Regions from separate parts of the Homo sapiens genome. Here region 1 is linked to region 2. Evidence: promoter capture Hi-C in human tissues and cell types (Jung and others, 2019). All regions are on one chromosome and are shown on one strand. The core of a region is centred on a gene start or on the middle of the fragment in contact, and the rest is flanking DNA. Distances in the headings are between cores, read along the strand shown. Region 1 has its middle 34 kb from the start of TM4SF1-AS1. Region 2 holds the start of TM4SF1 (transmembrane 4 L six family member 1).

Region 1 (3,228 bases), core at 400-2,899, 34 kb after region 2:
TTGGCAACATAGTGAGACCCTGTCTCTACAAAAAATTTAAAAAATTATTTGCCAGGCATGGTGATGCATTCCGGTAGTCTCAGCTATAGGCTGAGATGGGAGGATTTCTGGGCCCAGGAGGTCAAGGCTACAGTGAGCCATGATCATGCCACTGCACTCCAGCCTGGATGACATAATGAGACCCTGTCTCCAATAATAAAATACCAGTCATCTGAGCCTTCATCGAGTCATAATCCTTTTGCTGGGGGAGGGTCTTCCTACCTGTAAGAAGCAAATCCTCATCTGTTCAAGTTTGATCATGAGATTGAGCCACTTAGTCTCATCTTCAGGCTCTACTTCTAGTTCTAGTTTTCTTGCTATTTCCACCACCTCTGCAGTTACTTCCTGCCTGAAGTCTTGAACCCCTTAAATTCATCCACGAAGGTTGGAATTAACTTCTTCCAAACTCCTGTTAATGTTGATATTTCTACATCCTCCCATGGATCACAAATTTTCTTGATGACATCTAGAATAATGAATTTTTCCCAGAAGGTTTTCAATTTACTTTGCCCAGATCCATCAGGGGAATCACTATATATGACAGTTTATGAAATGTGTTTTTGTATAATAAGACTTGAAAGCCAAAAAATTATTACTTGATCCATATGCTGCAGAATAAATGCTAGACTTTCAGAGGGCAAATGAGAATTGGCTTCATCTTAAAGTCACCAGTTGCATTAGCCCCTAACAAGGGAGTCAGCCTGTCCTTTGAAGCTTTAAAGCCAGGCATAGACTTCTCTTCCTCTCTAGCTACAAAAGCCTTAGAAGATATCTTCTTCCAATGGAAGAAGATCTGTTTTACTTACATTGAAAATCTGTTGTTCATTGTAGCCACCATCATCAATGATCATAGCTAGATCTTCTGGCTAACTGACTGCAGCTTCTACATCAGCACTTGCTGCTTCACCCTGTACTTTTATGTTATGGAGATACAACTTCTTTCCTTAAACCTCATGAATCAACCTCTGCTAGCTTCAAACTTTTCTCATGGAGCTTCATCACGTCTTTCTGCTTTCATAGAATTGAAGAGAGCTGGGGCCTTTCTCTTGATTAAGCTTCGGCTTAAGGGAATGTTGTGGCTGGTTTGATCTTCTATCCATACCACTCCAACTTTCTCCATATCAACGAGAAGGGTGTTTCACTTTCTTATCATTCATGTGTTCCCTGGAAGTAATTTTCTTCAAGAACTTTTCCTTTGCGTTCACAATGTGGCTAAGTTTTTGGCTCAAGAGGCCTAGCTTCTGGCCTGTCTTGGCTTTCCATATGCCTTCGTCACTAAGCTTAATAATTTCTAGCTTTTGCTTTAAAGTGCGATGTGAGACTCTTCCTTTCACCTGAACACTTAGAAACCATTGTAGGGTTATTAATTGGCCCAATTTCAATATTCTTGTGTCCCAGAAAATAGGGTGGCCCAAGGAGAGGGAGAGAGATGGGGAAAGGCTTGTTGGTGGAGCTGTCAGAACACACATAGCATTTATTGATTAAGTTCAATGTCTTATATGGGCATGGTTTGTGGCACCTCAAAACAATTATAATAGTAACATCAAAGATCACTGACCATAGATCACCATGACAGATATAATAATAAGGAAAAAGTTTGAAATACTAATAATAAGGAAAAAGTTAGAATTACTAAAACGTGGCACAGAGACATGATGTGAGCACATGCTGTTGGAAAAATGGCACCAATAGACCAATGCAGGGTTGCCACAAACCTTCAATTTGTAAAAACCATAACACACAGCTCAATAAAGTAAAGCACAACAAAACAAGGTATGCCTGTACTCAGTCATGAGCAGTTAGGGACAGATAACTCCTGGTCTCAGGTAGTGGTAAAAGAGATATTCTATGCTGCTGGCCCTGCCAGACAGTCTATCAGCTTGTGCCACTCTCTATAAATGCACAAAGTCAGCAAGTCACTAAGTTGGTGGAAAACGTGGGAAATTATGGGTTAGGTACATATAAAGTATGTACAGAAGACAGAAGACAAGAAGTCCTGCCATAGAACTTACTGTGTAGTCTGAATGCTGCAATTGTTTTGCCATTTATTGAATTGAATGGCATAAATCCAAATAAATCCATGACTATTTTGTTGTTCTGCAATGCTTTTTTATTTTACAATAAACCCTTTCAATAGCAGTGACCTCAAGGAAATGAAAACATGAGTTTAGTACAAAATCAAGTACAGAATTGCCATTTCTCAAGAAAGTAAATGATTAAAGTGAAACTTGCACAAAATGTAGACATTTGCCATCCACCGTGGGACCCATTGTGATATCACTGACCACTTGAAAACAAGGAAATACAAATCTGCTGAAAAATCATCAGGGTCTACTTCGAAAGTTAATGGTAAATTTAAGAAGACGCATGTTGAATGTGACAACAGTTGAGCAGGTGCAGCTTCAGAAGGTGCATTTATACAACCTCTTTTAAAGCATAACTTTTCATTTAGGTTAAATGATCGTTTATCTATTTTAATTTTGTTCTTTTAAAATCCCGTTTCCTCATGTACATACACTTGTAAAGTGTTAGTGAAAAATGATAGCGGATAATTAGCATAAGAAGAACTTGCCAAAATGGCCTCAATTTTGTATCAATGTCATCTGGTGATTCAAGTAAAAATCTAGTTAACTCTGATGACAGTTGAAGGCTCTCATCCAATTCAGGGAATCAAAGTAAAACTTTTAGGATTTTCTTTTGTTGAAAGTGAAACATCTGAGATTATTGCGAATGCTATTGTAAATTCTGTTACAGAGTACAGCATTGAGGATTAAATGATTTGTTTTTGCATCCATAATATGCTTACAAATTCTGGCGATGTACACCATTGTGGAAAAAATAATGCTCTTACTAAATTAAACTTGTAGAGCAAAAATGTACTTGGAATTGATTGCCATGCACATGACTCATAATTGGGTTAAACAAGCTATGATATTCTACCAATTGACATAGAAGCTGTATTGCCAAAACTCACAAACATTTTTACATATACGCAGATAAAATAACTGAACTACATAGTTTTCATGGTGATACTGATATTGAAGAAAGAAAATACTTGGGTATAGCAACATGTGAACCCACTCTTTGCTGTTCATCATTAATTAGATTTTAGAAACATTTGAGTCCTTGAAAAACAAATTTGTAACACAACATAAGTATCTTATATTGGCATTGACATTTTTTGGTAAA
Region 2 (3,388 bases), core at 194-2,693:
TAATAAATATTAACTGCTTCCTTGATTATACAAATGCATAGTTTTAACTTAACAATATTAAGCTCTTAAAATATAGTAAATATGAAATACTTCAGGTTCAAGATCGAAAGAAACTTAAGTGTGATGTTATGTTTAAGACAAATAATCATGTTAACATGATAATAATGCTTAAATTTGAGGCAGACGGGCACTGTGGCTCATGCCTGTAATCCCAGCACTTTGGGAGGCCAAGGTAGGAGGGTCACTTGGGCCCATGAGTTCAAGACCAGCCTGGGCAACATGGCGAAACCCCGTCTCATTAAATAAAATAAAATTAAATAAAATCTCATTAAATAAATAATTTAGGGCAGATTTGCCATGCCATAATCAGTGTATTAGGTTTAAATGTTTTACTATCTTTTACTTGATTAAGAAAATTTATCACGTATGGTACCATTCCATAAAATTTCTCCTTAAAATTTTTAATCCCAGCACTTTAAAGTAGCAAACTTAAGTTTGCTCACATTCTTTCCATGCTGTGGTTGAAGCTAATGCTTTCAGCTCCCAGGTTGGCAGGGAAATTCCTCTCACTTCAATCAAAAACAATTCTTGGAAAAAATAACACATTCCACTATTAGCTTCAGACACCGACCTGCTGCTAACTGTAGGGTTTTTCCTAGACGCCACACCCCAGCCTTACATAAAGGAGAAAGCTTAGAGTTCTTTTAAAATAGCAATGCACTCACAATTCATTATTTTTCCCTATCACAGATGGCTGAAAATAAACAGCAGAGAATTTGGATTCAAAACTGTTGATTTAGGCAGAGAACCAGCCAACCCCTTCCGGCTCCCCAGAGCAAATGTTAAATGACTGCCCGTTCTAGTAGAAACTCTATAGTCTCTCAAATCTGATTTAAAAGCGAATATCTGTTTCCTACCTATAGAGTTTAGCAAAAAGGCAGTTCACTTTTAGTTGAAAGAGCATTTTGTAAAACAACATCTCATAAAATTACTACGCTATACTGTACCAATCTCGCTTTTGTATAATCTGCTTTCAAAGGAATGAACAGCAACAAAAAAGTCACTTGATTTAGAAATATGCATTACAAAAAACTTTCCATGAAAATACATAATGAAAACATCTAGGAAACAGGAGAGAATTCAGTAATAATCCTGAATGACTTACCAGCAGGCCACCTCCTACGATGCCAGAAAAGAACCACACGAAGCGGCTGAGGTGGTTTTCGGAGGCATACTTTGTTTCCCCATTGGGAAAGTAAAGCAAAATATTAGCCGCGATGCACAGGAGGGCGAGCCCCACCAGAGAATGTCCGATGCATCGTGCACACTTCCCATAGCACATGGTGGTCTGCTAGGTTTTCTCCCCCTTCTCTTTGTCTTCAGCTCAGTGATACCCCAAATTAGATGAAAGTGTGCCCTTCTGGTGGAGAAAGCAAACACCACTCTCAGCCCATTCCTGCTACCTCTTAAATACTGCGATTCTTAGTCACTGAGGGGATGAGGTACTTTGCTTTCATTGGTCCTAATGGCAGGCTCTGGCTGTGGTGCGAAGAGGCAGGGGGAATGTCCCGCCCTTCAGACGAAATCCTTGGGACAGGCAAAACCAGGGGCAGGATGTGAGAAACAGCCTCAGTCATAGGCAACAGGGAAAATGATTAATCTTGAACAAGGCATTGACTGTGCAACTCCTCCACAAGATAAAGAATCAACAGGAAAGCCTAACATGACTTTCCAGTAACTGCCAAGTGTCCGAGATGCAACAGCCCTGGTTGAGGCTTTGAAAGACAGTGAGCTGTGCCCCTGCTCCATGCAGCTGTCTGGACAGCTTCCAATCTGAGAGCTCTGTGTTCATTTCTACCTTTGTGCTGATTTAATTTACAACCTGGGGCAAATCTCCTGAGCTCATTTCCTTGTCTATTAAATACAAGGTGTCTGAGACGTCTCCCATGGATTTGAGAAGGCTGTTGGGAAAACTACAGAGCAAACTTCTTTACTCTGCCTACAGCAAGCTCTGCAGGATGGATTTCAGTGTTCAGCGTCCCTGGACATCTGCCTCTAAAACAAATCTGCACCACAACAGAGGTGGCATCAGTCAACACAAAGGGCTCAGGTGCTTTTTAAAAATTATTGAGTGTTGCTGTCAGGAAAAGCAATGCCAGGAAGGGCCAAGGAAGGCCTAAAGCATGGGACAAAAATAAAAAGAGGAAGAAGAGAGGGGGAGGAAGAGAATGGGAGAGAAGGAAAGAGGAAAGGAGGAAGGAAGAGAGGAAGGAAAGAAGAGAAGGAGGGAGAGAAGGAGAGAGGGAAAAAGGGAGGAAGGGAGGGAGGGAGGAAGGAAGGAAGGAAAAAAGGAAGGAAGGATGGGGGGAGGGAAGGAAGGAGGGAGAGGGAGAAAAAAATAAGACAAAGGGACTTGGCAAGCAGAGTGGAGAAACAAGGTTCAGAGAAACAGAACTGGCTAGGAGTGTCAGAACCCACACAGAGGTAAACAGATGGTTTACCCAGCCAGATCCTGAGACCAGCTTCCACAGGCTCCCCACACAGGGCAGAGAAAGGGTGTTAGACTAACTTTCTAGGTGGTTACCTTGCAGAAGGAGGGGCTGGGCACTGAATAAATTTATGCCTTGAACAGCAGATTGCACCAGCCAGTGGATGGTGGTGGGAGGTGGACAGGGTGGCCGGGTGGGGCCAGGCCTGGAGGGCCTTGTCACCAGGACAAGATAGAGAGTACAGAAAATAGAAAAGGACCAAGGTAGGGAGGCATTAGCTTAGAAGAAGAAGGTGAATGAGGTTCACGAATCTAGAGTCTGAAGGATTTGGCCCGGAACTAGAGGGCGGGACACATACCAAATTTGAGGAGACCAGCTGTGGTTAGTGATGTGGCATGGGACCGGAGGAGGGCCCAAGAAGTGTGGCCTCAGCACACTAACAGGGGTGAAGCCAGAATCCAGGATGGCCTGAGGAAATAAATCAGTGGAGTTGGGAAGCGTGGAACCACCCACCTGCTCAGGCGGAGGCAGGCAAATCCTCATAAGAGTGTCATTGGGTCACCACTATGTGTCCAACAACAGGGAACGTGTGTTTGGCCCGATGGCTTAGAGACAGGATTCCACTGGTGACAGAGCCTATGGGTGAATGACGGCATCCTTTGTTGAAGCATAATCATTGCAACCCTCCTGTCTGCTGATCTATCCCACCTGGGGCCAAAATGGGGGAAAGTGATGCTTAAACTACTGATATGGTTAGGCTTTGTGTCCCCACCCAAATCTCATCTTGAATTGTAATCCCCATAATCCTCACGTGTCAAGTGAGAGACTGGGGGGAGGGAACTGAATCATGGCAGCAGTTTCCCCCATGCTGTTCTTGTGATAGTGAGTGAGTTCTCATG

The links. The method cuts DNA at HindIII sites, captures the fragments that hold promoters and counts their contacts. A contact is called where the count stands out against the background at its distance.
Region 1: a contact is called between a fragment that was not itself captured here and the fragment with the promoter of TM4SF1 in region 2, in 1 of the 25 tissues and cell types used here (aorta).

Annotation. Positions count from the first base shown.
Region 1 is chr3:149,409,714-149,412,941 of GRCh38, forward strand. No RefSeq gene overlaps it. Among named protein-coding and RNA genes, the nearest start is that of TM4SF1-AS1, 34 kb to the left of the region's middle. The HindIII fragment of the contact is 3,524 bases long and covers 1-3,228 here.
Region 2 is chr3:149,376,206-149,379,593 of GRCh38, forward strand. It overlaps TM4SF1 (transmembrane 4 L six family member 1), which reads right to left and starts at 1,444. Exons shown (of 5, transcript NM_014220.3): 1 at 1,166-1,444. The coding sequence starts at 1,342. It overlaps TM4SF1-AS1 (TM4SF1 antisense RNA 1), which reads left to right and starts at 1,573. Exons shown (of 2, transcript NR_109810.1): 1 at 1,573-2,110. The HindIII fragment of the contact is 5,365 bases long and covers 1-3,367 here.